Linked DNA regions of Homo sapiens: region 2 is linked to region 1. The links are contacts of gene promoters, found by promoter capture Hi-C in blood cells and fetal thymus (Javierre and others, 2016). All regions are on one chromosome and are shown on one strand. The core of a region is centred on a gene start or on the middle of the fragment in contact, and the rest is flanking DNA. Distances in the headings are between cores, read along the strand shown.

Evidence for each region. Contacts are between HindIII fragments. The CHiCAGO score rates a contact against its expected background, and 5 or more counts as called.
Region 2: a fragment that was not itself captured here is called in contact with the fragment with the promoter of AKAIN1 in region 1 in 1 of 17 cell types (naive CD4 T cells); the score reaches 5.5 in naive CD4 T cells.

The regions. Positions count from the first base shown.
Region 1 is chr18:5,194,686-5,200,658 of GRCh38, forward strand. It overlaps AKAIN1 (A-kinase anchor inhibitor 1), which reads right to left and starts at 2,572. Exons shown (of 2, transcript NM_001145194.2): 1 at 2,353-2,572. The coding sequence starts at 2,368. The HindIII fragment of the contact is 4,568 bases long and covers 1-3,078 here.
Region 2 is chr18:5,104,768-5,110,740 of GRCh38, forward strand. No RefSeq gene overlaps it. Among named protein-coding and RNA genes, the nearest start is that of LINC01892, 27 kb to the left of the region's middle. The HindIII fragment of the contact is 3,994 bases long and covers 1,597-5,590 here.

The DNA.
Region 1 (5,973 bases), core at 1,322-3,821:
TGTTTTGAAGGGCACAGTACCCACTGACCCAATTTTATGAATAGCTCCTTGTTAATTTATTGTTATATTCATCTTGGCTTATATAACACCCTTTTAATAATTTTGGAGTGATCTTAGCACATGACCCTGTTTCTTCCCTTTCTGAGTGTTAGGTTAGCTTGAAAGAAAGGGGTGGGAGTGTATTTCCTTTAACTAGTACAAAACATCTGGATTCCCAGATTATTATAGAGATTTAGAAAAGCAATAGGCAAGAAATGAGGTTGCAGTGCTGAAAATCTGGCGGAGTTCAAAAGCAATTCATTGTTCTGCTTTTCTTTCAGAATAATACACATCACTATACGAATTAGAAAACAAATGATCCATAGATGAGAAGGTAAGTTGACACAGTATTTTTAGCATCCTGTTCTTATTGTCCCAAATGCTTATGATTTTTCAAGAGAACCCCAAAATTGAAGAAGTGATGAAAAAAAAAGTTTCCCCAGACGTTTCTGTATCTATCCTATCCAGGTCAATTCACGCCATCTCTGACAGTTATGAATAACTTCTACTTTCCACACAGAACAAAACACTAATACAAAACTTGAAAGTAAAATGGAAAAGTAAAGTCCTGTCCAAATTGTGGGCTCTTTAAACCAAGCCAGTCTACTCCAGAAATTCCCCACTGTTCATTACAGTGGCCATCACTCACGATCTTGCTTTTAGAAAATGCCTAGTTAACATCACGCAACAACCCTAACTCTTGTACAACACCATATCCCTCCCCTCCTTGGAATGGAAAGGATATGCTGAGTCTCTGGCTACATCTGACCTTGGACCAAAAATCATCTACCCCTGGAGCCAGTGAGATATTTTGTCAGGAAGAAAGGTTGTGGGAGAAAAAGACAGAATTCGAGGTCAGAAAACTCCATTAGAGACTAGCAAGATTATCTGGAACCAGCCTCCCTGGGGATGGTAGAGTAGGAATGATATTCCTTAACTCTCAGGGTAATTAGGAGATCAAATGAGATAGCAGCATGAAACTGCTTTGTAAAGTGTTAAGTGCTGTATAAATGCAGCAAAGAGCTGTTTTCCAACTTCCTTGCTCCAGTGTTGATTGAATGTCCTTTGCTATATGGAACAATTTCCTCCCTTGAGTTATTTAGGATGGGCATGGGAAGAGCTCCTGGGCATTCCTTTAAGGCGTTCCTCTAAGAACCACTGCCTGTGGTAAAGCCAGAGCCTACAGAAACTCATCCCTCCCTCCCCAGCTAGCATTCTGAGGGGGAGGGGGAGGGGACTGACTTGCTCTTCTCAAGTTTTGCTAATTGAATTTTTTGAAGAAAAGACTCAATTCTTCCCTTTAAAAAAAAATGCATTACGCCTTTTCTCCCCAGCCATCTGAAGCCCATGACCACAGCAAATACATGCCAATCTTTCAAGTTAAAGACCCCAGGAACAAAGCTAGAGAGTTCTAGGCCCCTCCAGCCTTCCCCACTCCCTGTTTTCCACAGCAGTCTTTAACGAAATCAGACCCTAAAATGCGTGAGAGAGAAATACTTTGGATCTACCCCTAGAGACAGCGTCGGACGTTCACAACGACCACGCTTTTCCCCGCTTCCTCGATTAGCCTGGCCTCCCTTGCTCCAGTGGGGCGGACTCAAATGCGCACGCACGCACACGCCGCCAAGCCGGTCAACCGCAGACAAATCTGACTCTTCGCCAACTAGTAGCCACGGAGAGCAGCAAAGGGACCAAGGTCCTTCACCGCCTGCTCCAAAAAGACACGGCAACCTCCAGCGGCGCCGCAGTAGCTGCCTCTGTGCTGCAGCCTCCGGTCGGAGTTTCAGGTCTAATTCCTTAAGAAGTATCGCTCCTCTGCCCTTCGTCCTACTCCCCTTGGCTTCGCCCACTTCGCCTCCTTCTCCTCGGGAGGCCAGGAGGACCCGGGTCACTTTGCCAATTCTGCGGAGGGGGAAGTAGCAGTGAGGGAGATTCCCACGCAAGTAGCCCGAAGCCCACTACTCTTTGCCCCACCTCTCCACTCTCTTGCCCGTGTAGGTGCCGGTGCTGCTGGCGAAAGTCCCAGTTCTTAAGGCTCCTGAGCTCGGAAGGGGTGTGGAGGAGCCAGATGGGAAGAGAAGCAGCGGGACGAGGGCGAGGAAGGGCTGGAGATTGTTAGAGGACAGATGGGGCGGGACTGGGGAGAGGGGCGAAGGCGACGCGCCGAGGCACTCCTCCGCCCCATGAGCACAGACAGTAACTCCGAAACGCGCAGATGGGCCGTAAGGTAAAGAGGCCTTTTTTCCCTCTCCTCTCCGTCCTCTACCCTGCTCCCCTCCTAGACACTTGGTGAAAAAGCAAGGTGCGGTGTACCTGGAGCGAACACCATGATTTCTTCCAGCCGCTACGCCCCCAGATTAAGAGAGAAAGACAGGCAGACGGAGGATGGGAAGAAGGCCGGACTTGGCGGGGTCCGGTGCAGGAGGGCGCGCTGGGCGGGCGGCGGGCGGGGCGGTCAGCACCCCGGACAGCTCCCGCCGCTAGATCCTGGGGCCGCAGCTCCAGCCGCCGCCGCGCGCTCTGCCTCCACAATGCGGCCACAGCGGCGGCGGGAGGAGGAGGGTGAATCCCCGCTCAGTCCATCCCTCATTCCTGTGCCAGCTCGGCGACGTACACTGCTGCTTAGGGAGCAAAGCACTTCCACCGCTTTCACGCGACGAAGGTCGGAAGAGCAAGAGAGAGAAAGGTAAACTTCCCGGCAGGGGACAGTGAATTGCTTTTAATTACCTGCTGTGGCTCGTCGCCGTGGATATTGGACTGACATTTAAGATAGATTTGTCAAAAAAAAAAAACTCTAAGAGCTTTCTTTACTCTCGAGGATGACTCTGAGTTCTCCGAGTTGGGCTGGCTCGAATAGAGGGGCGGGTCTGTCAAGTTAATAGGTCCTGGAGGTCCGTGAGTCCTCTCTCGCGAGTCCCAGTCCTCTGCTAACGTCAGGAAGAGAGCAAGAGGAAGGACACAGTGACTATGGAGCGCTCGAGGAGGGCGCTACTATCAGGTTCCGCTCCCAGGTGGCAAATCCGGCTCTGAAAGCTCCTAAGCTTGAAGGTCCTCAAGGTCATCACTTTAGAAAAAGCAAGGCCGGCCAGGGCACAGGAAAGATAACGCATACACCCTTCACAAGGAAGAGCCAACAGAGCCCCCTGCAAGTGTGAGAACAGCCCTGAGATCAATCAAGAAACATCAGTTCTTCCCCTATCCTCACCCAGCTGAAAACTGTCTGCATGCCCCGCTCATACACCCAGTTCTACCTTAAAGGTACTGGGACTGCCTTATGCTCACTTCATCCTCCTAATCATTGCTCACTTTAGGTATCTATTCCCTAATAATGTCTGTGCAGTGTGAACAGCCCACACTAGATGTCACCCAGCTTGAAACAGGTCCATGTGGGTTACAAACCCAAAGCTAAAGCCACCCAGAATCCTCCAGCCTCTCCCCTATTTTTCCAGCTAAATAAGGTTTTCCAAGAACAAAGGTAATCAAGGTCATCTCCAGTGTTTTATGGGGTTTCTTCACTTGCAACTATCCCTGGAAAATGTAACTATTCTGAAAATTAAGTATTTCCTGATAATTGGTTGATGGCAATAAGTTCTACAGTCTTTTGGCAAATATAAAGCATCCAAATAGACTGATTGGCACTGTTTTTTTTTTAAAGCCATCCGATAGACTGAAAATGCAAATAGTTTTACAGCTTTTGAACTACAGTTTGCATGAAGGCATATGGGCAGCCTCAACATAATACAATCAGTACTGCTGTTAGCACCTGGCTCAACACAGGCTTGAACATATGGGGCCTACCCCAGCAGCAGCAAGATGAAAGTCAGCTGATGGGCAGGATAAAGCGTGTGCATGACAGGATAGAGTTCTCCCATTTTGCCAAGTTTCTCCAATGATGCTTCACTCTGTCTTCTTTTCTTCATCCCACGGGAAGTGTAAAACAGTATTTAAAATAATTTTGGAATGAAAGGTGTTTTTCTTGTAACACACTCAAAAGGGCTGTCTTTTACAGCCCTTATGTTTAAATGGGCTTTCATCTCCCAATACATAAACAGTTACCCATGATTAAGTTCAAGGAAAAGCAATATAGTATAGGAAAAACAACAACAAAAGACTTGAGAATCAGACTGAGACCCAGGTACCACATCCTCATCATTTACTAGATGCATGACCTTAAATAAGTTACTTAACCTGTCCTGTCTCATCTGCAATATAAGGATTAAGGTATCTTGAAGGTTTGTTGTAAGGATTAGCTGTGAGATGGATTAACAGATTAATTAAGAGAGAGCACAGCCTCAATTAAACTCATTCCAGGAAATCACTGGCACCCTGGGAGTAGAGTACACCCTATGGGAAAGCAAACAAAATATGTTAGACCAGTGCTTCTCAAACATTAATGTGCGTAAGAATCCTATGGAGATCTTGTTTTAAAAAAAAGGTTATGATTCAGCAGTGATATGGTTTGGCTGTGTCCCCATGAAATCTCAACTTGAATTGTATCTCCCAGAATTCCCACATGTTGTGGGAGGAACCCAGTACGAATCAATTGAATCATGGGGGCCGGTCTTTCCCATGCTAATCTCGTGATAGTAAATAAGTCTCACGAGATATGATGGTTTATCAGTATCAGAGGTTTCCGCTTTTGCTTCTCTCTCATTTTCCCTTGCCACTGCCATGTAAGACGAGCCTTTTGCCTCTAGCCATGATTCTGAGGCCTCCCCAGCCACATGGAACTGTCAGTCCAATTAAACCTTATTTTGTTCCCAGTTTCGGGTATGTCTTTATCAGCAGCATGAAAACAAACTAATACAAGCAGTTAGGTCCCGAGATTCTGAATTTCCAACAAGTTCCGTGGTAATGTCCATGCTGCTGGTCTATGGAGTAAACTTGGTTAGCAAGGTATTAGAGGCATCAGCTTTTAAACAGAAGGAAATTACTTGTATCTTTCCCAACCTCAGAGCTTATCTTTTTGAGTTTTAAACAAAGAAGGAACCCAGATGGATTCCCATAGACTACCAAGATAAACAGTAGCCAAGATGGTAGTAGAAAGAAAGAATGCCTGAAAATGGTCTGGGGCTCCTTGGGCTATTTGATTAGCAATAGGAGGTAGTAAGAATCCAGCTCAACAGGTCAAGAACAGAGAAAAAAAAAACAACTCTTCTCACCTCCATCCTCAGCTGTTTTCTGCCCTTCATCCTCCAATCACCTCTTCATTTTTTTCTACCCAACATCACTAGCCAGAGGACAATATATTCCCAATCCAATTTTCGTGTGCATATATTTTAGTCAGAACCATTGTTTTATTTCCAATAAAACCGAGGTACTTCAGTGATTTTTCTATTTTACAGTTTCATTTATTTCACCAGTAAATGTTACAGTCAACAATACTATCTCCAATGTTTACTACTACTTGGGTTATTATTCTGTTAGCTTTATTGAAACACCCCAATAATGCTACTAGATTTTTTTTTTTTTTTTTTTTTTGAGACAAGGTCTCATTCTGTTGCCCAGGCTAGAGTGCAGCAGTGCCATCTCGGCTCACTGCAACCTCCGCCTCCTAGGCTCAAGAGATCCTCCCACCTCAGCCTCCCAAGTAGCTGAGACTACAAGTGCACACCACCATGCCCAGCTAATTTTTGCATTTTTTAGAGACAGGCTTTTGCCATGTTTCCCAGGATGGTCTTGAACTTCTGAGCTCAAGCCATCCACCTGCCTCAGCTTCCCAAAGTGCTGGGATTACAAGTGTGAGCCACTGCCAAGGCCTTAGATTTTTTCTTATGTCTTTACATCTTAATATAAATGATCAATTTAACAATAGAATGCCTGATAGGAAAATGAAAGCCTCCTCTTATTCTACTAGGATAAGAACAAGATTCTCTTTGATAGACCATTTATCCAGTCTTACCCCACAATGAGGTTCTCAATAATATTTTGCTC
Region 2 (5,973 bases), core at 2,344-4,843, 89 kb before region 1:
TAGATCCAGATTTGCCTAGAACTTCACTAATCTCTTGACTTTCTATTTAGGTAAGCAAACAAATTATTCCTTGGTTCATGTTAGTTGGGATGGGTTTTAATCACCTGATAACAAAAGATTCCTGACTAATACACCTTTTTGTACTTTTTTCATTTTCCAACATTTTATTATAAATATATATTGTTTCAGTAATTGAATAAGAATAGCTATTCTTAAAATAATTATATAGGCAGATCTAAGTTCTGGTTAGAGTAGCACTGTTAAAGTATTCTAGGCTGGGCACGGTGGCTCATGACTGTAATTCCAGCACTCTGGGAGGCTGAGGCAGGCGGATCACCTGAGGTTAGGAGTTCAAAGCTAGCCTGGCCAACATGGTGAAACCCCGTCTCTACTAAAAATACGAAAATTAGACGGACGTGATGGCAGCTCTCTGTCATCCCAGCTACTCAGGAGGCTGAGACAGGAGAATTGTGAATGTTGTAGTGAGCCAAGATTACACCATTGCACTCTACCCTGGGTGATGTGAGTGAAACTTCGTCTCACTAAATAAATAAATAAATATTCTAACTAGCCTGCTGCATCTTTTCTTATTTTCAGTATGTAGCATCCTGTTAGGATATTCTTTAGAAATGCTTCAAAAGCATCAAAAGAATAACCCAGATTTTTTATTAGGTATCATAGATGCCAACTTCAGAGCTCATCCAGAAAGATTATTGGAAAACCAAGAATAATGTCTGACTCTCAACTTCTTCTCAAATTAAATAAGAAATAGAAACAGACTAAATCAATTTAGAGAGCTGATCTCAATATTATTCCAAGTCTGCTATTTAACTCATAGGAGGCAACATTAGGAAAATACTTGCAAAAATTCTTCATGGATGTTTGCAAAATATCATACAACTTTAAAATCAGTGGGTCCATGTGGCATATATCCCAAGAGAGCAAGAAAACTAGCAACTGGGGCTAGCAAATCCTTGTAATTTATTTCCAACAGTCACATTAAAAGTTACAAGTTGCACAAAGTAAAGAGGTTTAATTTTCTTTGAAAGAAAGGAGTCTATCTCATAAATCAGTATTAAAAGAGAAAACTCTTCAAGCATCTCTAAAATGGTGATGTTGTGAGTAACTAAAACATAATTAAAGTAAGAATTTATCATGGGAGAACAAATTTGTGGCCCTTCCATATTAACAGCCTGTTGACCTGTTTCAAAATCAATTTGGTGATATGTACTAATATCTTTTAAAATGTGCATGCCTTTTGAGCTGGTAATTTCATTTATGGGGCTTTATCCTTGGGAAATATGCTGAATTTGAAAAAATAATAAAACTAAGTACAAAGACACTCATTTTCCTAAAAAAATAGAATTAATTTAGTTGTGTTAACAAGAGAAGCAAGCAGCCTGTTTGGGGAATTGTTGTGTCTATCAAAGTCAAAATTAACCTATTAATGCATGGGTGAACTCCCAATAATCTGCTCTTTTGAAAAGAAAACTCAACATCATAATTCTAATCATCTAATAATTCAAGAAATTAATCGCTTATGGCAATCAAATGAATTTAATGTAGGATGTGCCTTTTTATTGTGTTCCTCAAATAAGCTTTCTTCTTTGTATATGCAAACATATTCTGGGAGTATGGCACTTAACAAGATGGCAGAAAAAAATTTAGCCAGGATTCAACACTTTCCCACACATCATCAGCACTTGAGTAAGTTATAAGCATGGTTTTTGAAAGTTCATGTTCAATTATTTCATGAAAAACTAAAAATTTTATTTATTTATGCTGGGGGCTATATCTGAATTGAGACTCCTCAAAGTTAAGATTCTATCGCACTTTTAATCCAGATTGTTTGTTTGGTTAGTTAGTTGGTTAGTTTCCATTTGTTTATTTTGGGTTTTGGTTTTGCATTTTACTTCAGACTGACCAGTAGGAGGGAGAGGAAAACTAATATTTTGAAGGTTTAAAAGTGGACAAAATGAAACCTGCCAAATGGTACTGCAAAAGGGTAATCATACAGGAGAAACATTTTAAAAAGCAGAAAGAACCTAAGTAATTATCACTGGAAAGGTTAGGCAGAAATCAAGCCTAAATAACTTCCATTTCTAAAGATTACCTGACATTTCTTTTCAACAGCTAAAGTGCCACCTAGTGCCAAGCAAGAGAAGCAAGTCAGGTCTCAGGTTTAGAGTCACATGAATCATTTCTTCATTTACTTTGCATCCTTCTGTCAAGGGTTAGTTAAAATGGATCTTCTTCGGTGTCTCTCATCTCAGAAACATTAACAGGAAGTTGTAAGTGGCTCTGTTCAAGTCATCAGCACTGACAACATTAAGAATCATGGAGAAACTTAACTCATTCTTAACAATCAGAAAATGAACACTGGGTATTTCCTTGTAAATTTCAATTTAAAAGTAAATAAAAATTATTAATATAAAGGTCAATAAATGCTCTTCAATGGAAATTTAATTAAATAAATTATGACAGATCCTTTCAACAAAGTCTATGTAAGTCAAAAATTAATATGCTTAATGATACAAAAAACATTTATGACATACTGCTAAGTGGAAAAAAATAAGTTACAAATAGCATATATAGAATGTCTCATTTTGGGAAAAAATGTAGAAATGAGTATACTTGTACATAAAACCCCAGAAGTTAACAGGAACAGTGTTTCCCTGTAGCAATAGGATTAAGGGTAATTTTTTTCCTTTTCTTATTTTGTAAGTATGAAACACTTTTTCAATAAAGATATGATTACAAACTTTTTAGCCAAAAGCAAATATATAAATAAGACACTATACTATCACATGGTCATAATTTAAATAAATAAAAGAAAGAATGACTGGGTTTTGCTAAAACAGGGAGGAAAATTATACTTAATTAGGTAGAAAGAAAATATTTCTAAATACCAAATTTATAAATGATGTTACTTTTTTTTTTATTTATGTACTCATCACCTCACTAAAAGTGCAACTACTTGAACACTGCCCCCTCTCTCCCCTGTGCAACAAATTCTGAACTAAAGTTATCAACTGAAATGTCTTAAGGGTCCAGAACATATTGAAAATGGGTGAATCAACTAACAGTAGGAAGCAGTGAAGGCTGTGGGGATCTGAGAAGTACACACCTGGCAGCAAGCATTCAAATTCCAGTGCTTCATGTCCTCTCTGCAGCTGTCAAAATGCTTTGGAAGGACTTGTCTTAAACACACTAGACTGAGACCTCCCTAAAACAAGGATTATATTTAATTCATTACAGCCATGGTTCTTCACACCAAACCTTAAAGGTCAGAACGTGGGGCTGAGTAAGTGTTCTCCCAAATGTTTATTCTGATGTACTAATTTTCTATTCAGATATCCTGGACATCAGCATCAACTGCTTGCCTGGACACTTCTATTGGTAGACAGTATAGCCAGGACCTGGCCAAGGTCCTGAACTCATAACTCAACAGACTCAGACGTAAAGTCTGGCCCTGACACTTTCCAGGAACTTCAACAAATTTCTTAACTCCTTAAGCCTTAGTTTTCACATTTATACAAGACAGTAATTATAATATTGATTGTGGCTGTACTGATGATCAAACTGAATTCTAATTGAAAATACCTGGACATAGCAGAATCTCAGGAAATGTTATTTATCAGTGTAGTTATGCTACCTGGAGTTGGTGTCGTGCCTTCCATCATACCTCAGAGTCCATAGATCTCAAGCAATTGCTAGTTGAAAGCTGAGTCTACATCCTACACCAATTGTCTTCCCCACTCTTTCACCAGCTTCTTTTGTGGGTTTACCAGTCTCCCTCACTTTCTTGCCTCATCACTTCACACAGAATGGAGCCCTCCATGATGTCAAGCTCTTAACTTTTCTGTAGGAAAAGTTTGCCCATTGATTAACCATCAATCAATAAATAGTATAGTAACTGTTCCTATGCTATTCCCAACACAGGGGGAACATTCTGAATCTGTTATACATACTGTGCCCCATCAAAGCTGCAGAATTTTACATTGTATTTCCCTCCATTGAATTTCCCTCCCTTCATAAATTCACCCTAATAAATGTCATTTGAGGCTGTTTCCTTCAAACTCTCTTATTTTATATTGCCAGGCCTGTAGATTACACTCTGGTGTGCCTTTAGGGAAGTTTTATCTTAAGAATTTCATGAGTATCATGGATATGGACCAACTACTGCTTATATAAAAGATAGTTCCCGTTTTTAAACCAGGTGGTGACATTCAGTATTATATCAGTTTTCCTCTTTGTCGGTGGGTACAGGCAGTAATGTTTGAATTAATCAGAAATTAATCCAAATACATGAGTTAATTTTCAGAGAAATTCTAGAAATACTCCAGGATTAAATTTAAATTATGGGCATATCATGAGCAAAATTTCCTAAAGTTTTCCTAGATTTAATGTTTTAAATCTAAAGCTCCAAAAGCCAATATATAAGTATTACATATTGGATTAAATTACATACCACTAATGTTGTTGTATAGAGCTGGCCATAAGCAAAAATTAAAGTAATATTCCATTTATTTTACTTTAAGAAGGAGAAGAATTGAAAAGTCAAAATAATGGTTAAAGGGAAAAGTAAACTTAAGATATATGAGGTAATTGTAAGAGAATAACTTGTTGCTTTCAAGAATTTCAAATAACCAAATCAGAACAATTATATCATATGAAACTTGAATACATGTTTATAAAACCATTATCAATATATTTGGGAAACCAAGACAAATTTTTTTAAATCAAAGAATTAAAGATTGGCAAATGTCTTCAGTTTCAAAAAGTAGTAACTACACTAGATGTCATAGTGGATCAGAAATATTAATAAAATCTGATTTAGAAGAGGAAAAAAAAAGTAGTAACTACAGATTGAAGAACTTGATATTAATAACCAGCAACATTTAGAACAGGTTATTAAACAGATGATTATGAACATTTTTAAAACAATCACTAGTAGTAAGCATGTGTTCTCTGAAAATCGGCTATAATAATGATATATATTTTTTCTTTGGGGTGAGAACATTAGCTAGCTGTAGAATCAGGATTTTTGCGTTTGTGTATCCCTGGGCAAGTCACTTGACCTGGGACTAAATATTACAAAGTCACTAATAGCTGTTTGTCCAGAAGGGCTCTGTGGTGAAGTATATTGGAACAACAGTTGAACAAAAACTGATAGGTTTTTGTTGTTGAAAACTTACCAGAGTCTTTAATAAGTTCATGCCCATTGCAAGTTTCTGAGAGTGGGTCACTGTGTGCAGTATTTTTCAACTTGATTACCTGAAGAATAATTTTGATTTTCAGTGCATCTTACAAGACTAGGCTTCTGAAGAACTCTCAGAAATACTATGCTGAAAGCTCCCTCAGCTCTAGCATTTTATACCTATAGATGGTTAATTATAAACTATTAAAATCAATACAGGTATTGTTACAATCAAATTATATAGTTTAGAAATGTGTCAAATTTTAACACAAAGAACATAAAAACAATCAGAACCAAAATACATCATGCTTCAGAACTCTGGAATTTATATATTAAGTAATTCAAAATCCAATTTCAAACTACATTTTAAGGCAACTTTAACTTCAGTTAAGCTTATTTCCCTACTGGTTTTTGTTCCAGGAGCTATTAAATTATATCTTCTGATAGGCTATAATTCATTCAATTTAAATTGCATGTTAATTCACTTATAAAAGAAGCAGGAGGATGGGGTGGGGAATGGAGAGAGATCAGCCCCTTTATAATTCAGTTAGCTAATCTTTCATCCTTAATTAGATGATTAAAAAAACCTTTTAACTTTATCTTATATTTGAAAGGAACACTGAGATATATTCAAGAGACAGGGCAAAAGGAATAGCAAACAGAAAATATTGTTCTGTAACTATAAACATCCTCCAATAAGTATTTAAATTACTAATATGTACTTTAAAGCTTATTAGAAAAATACAAAATAGCATTGATCAAATGCTCCTAAG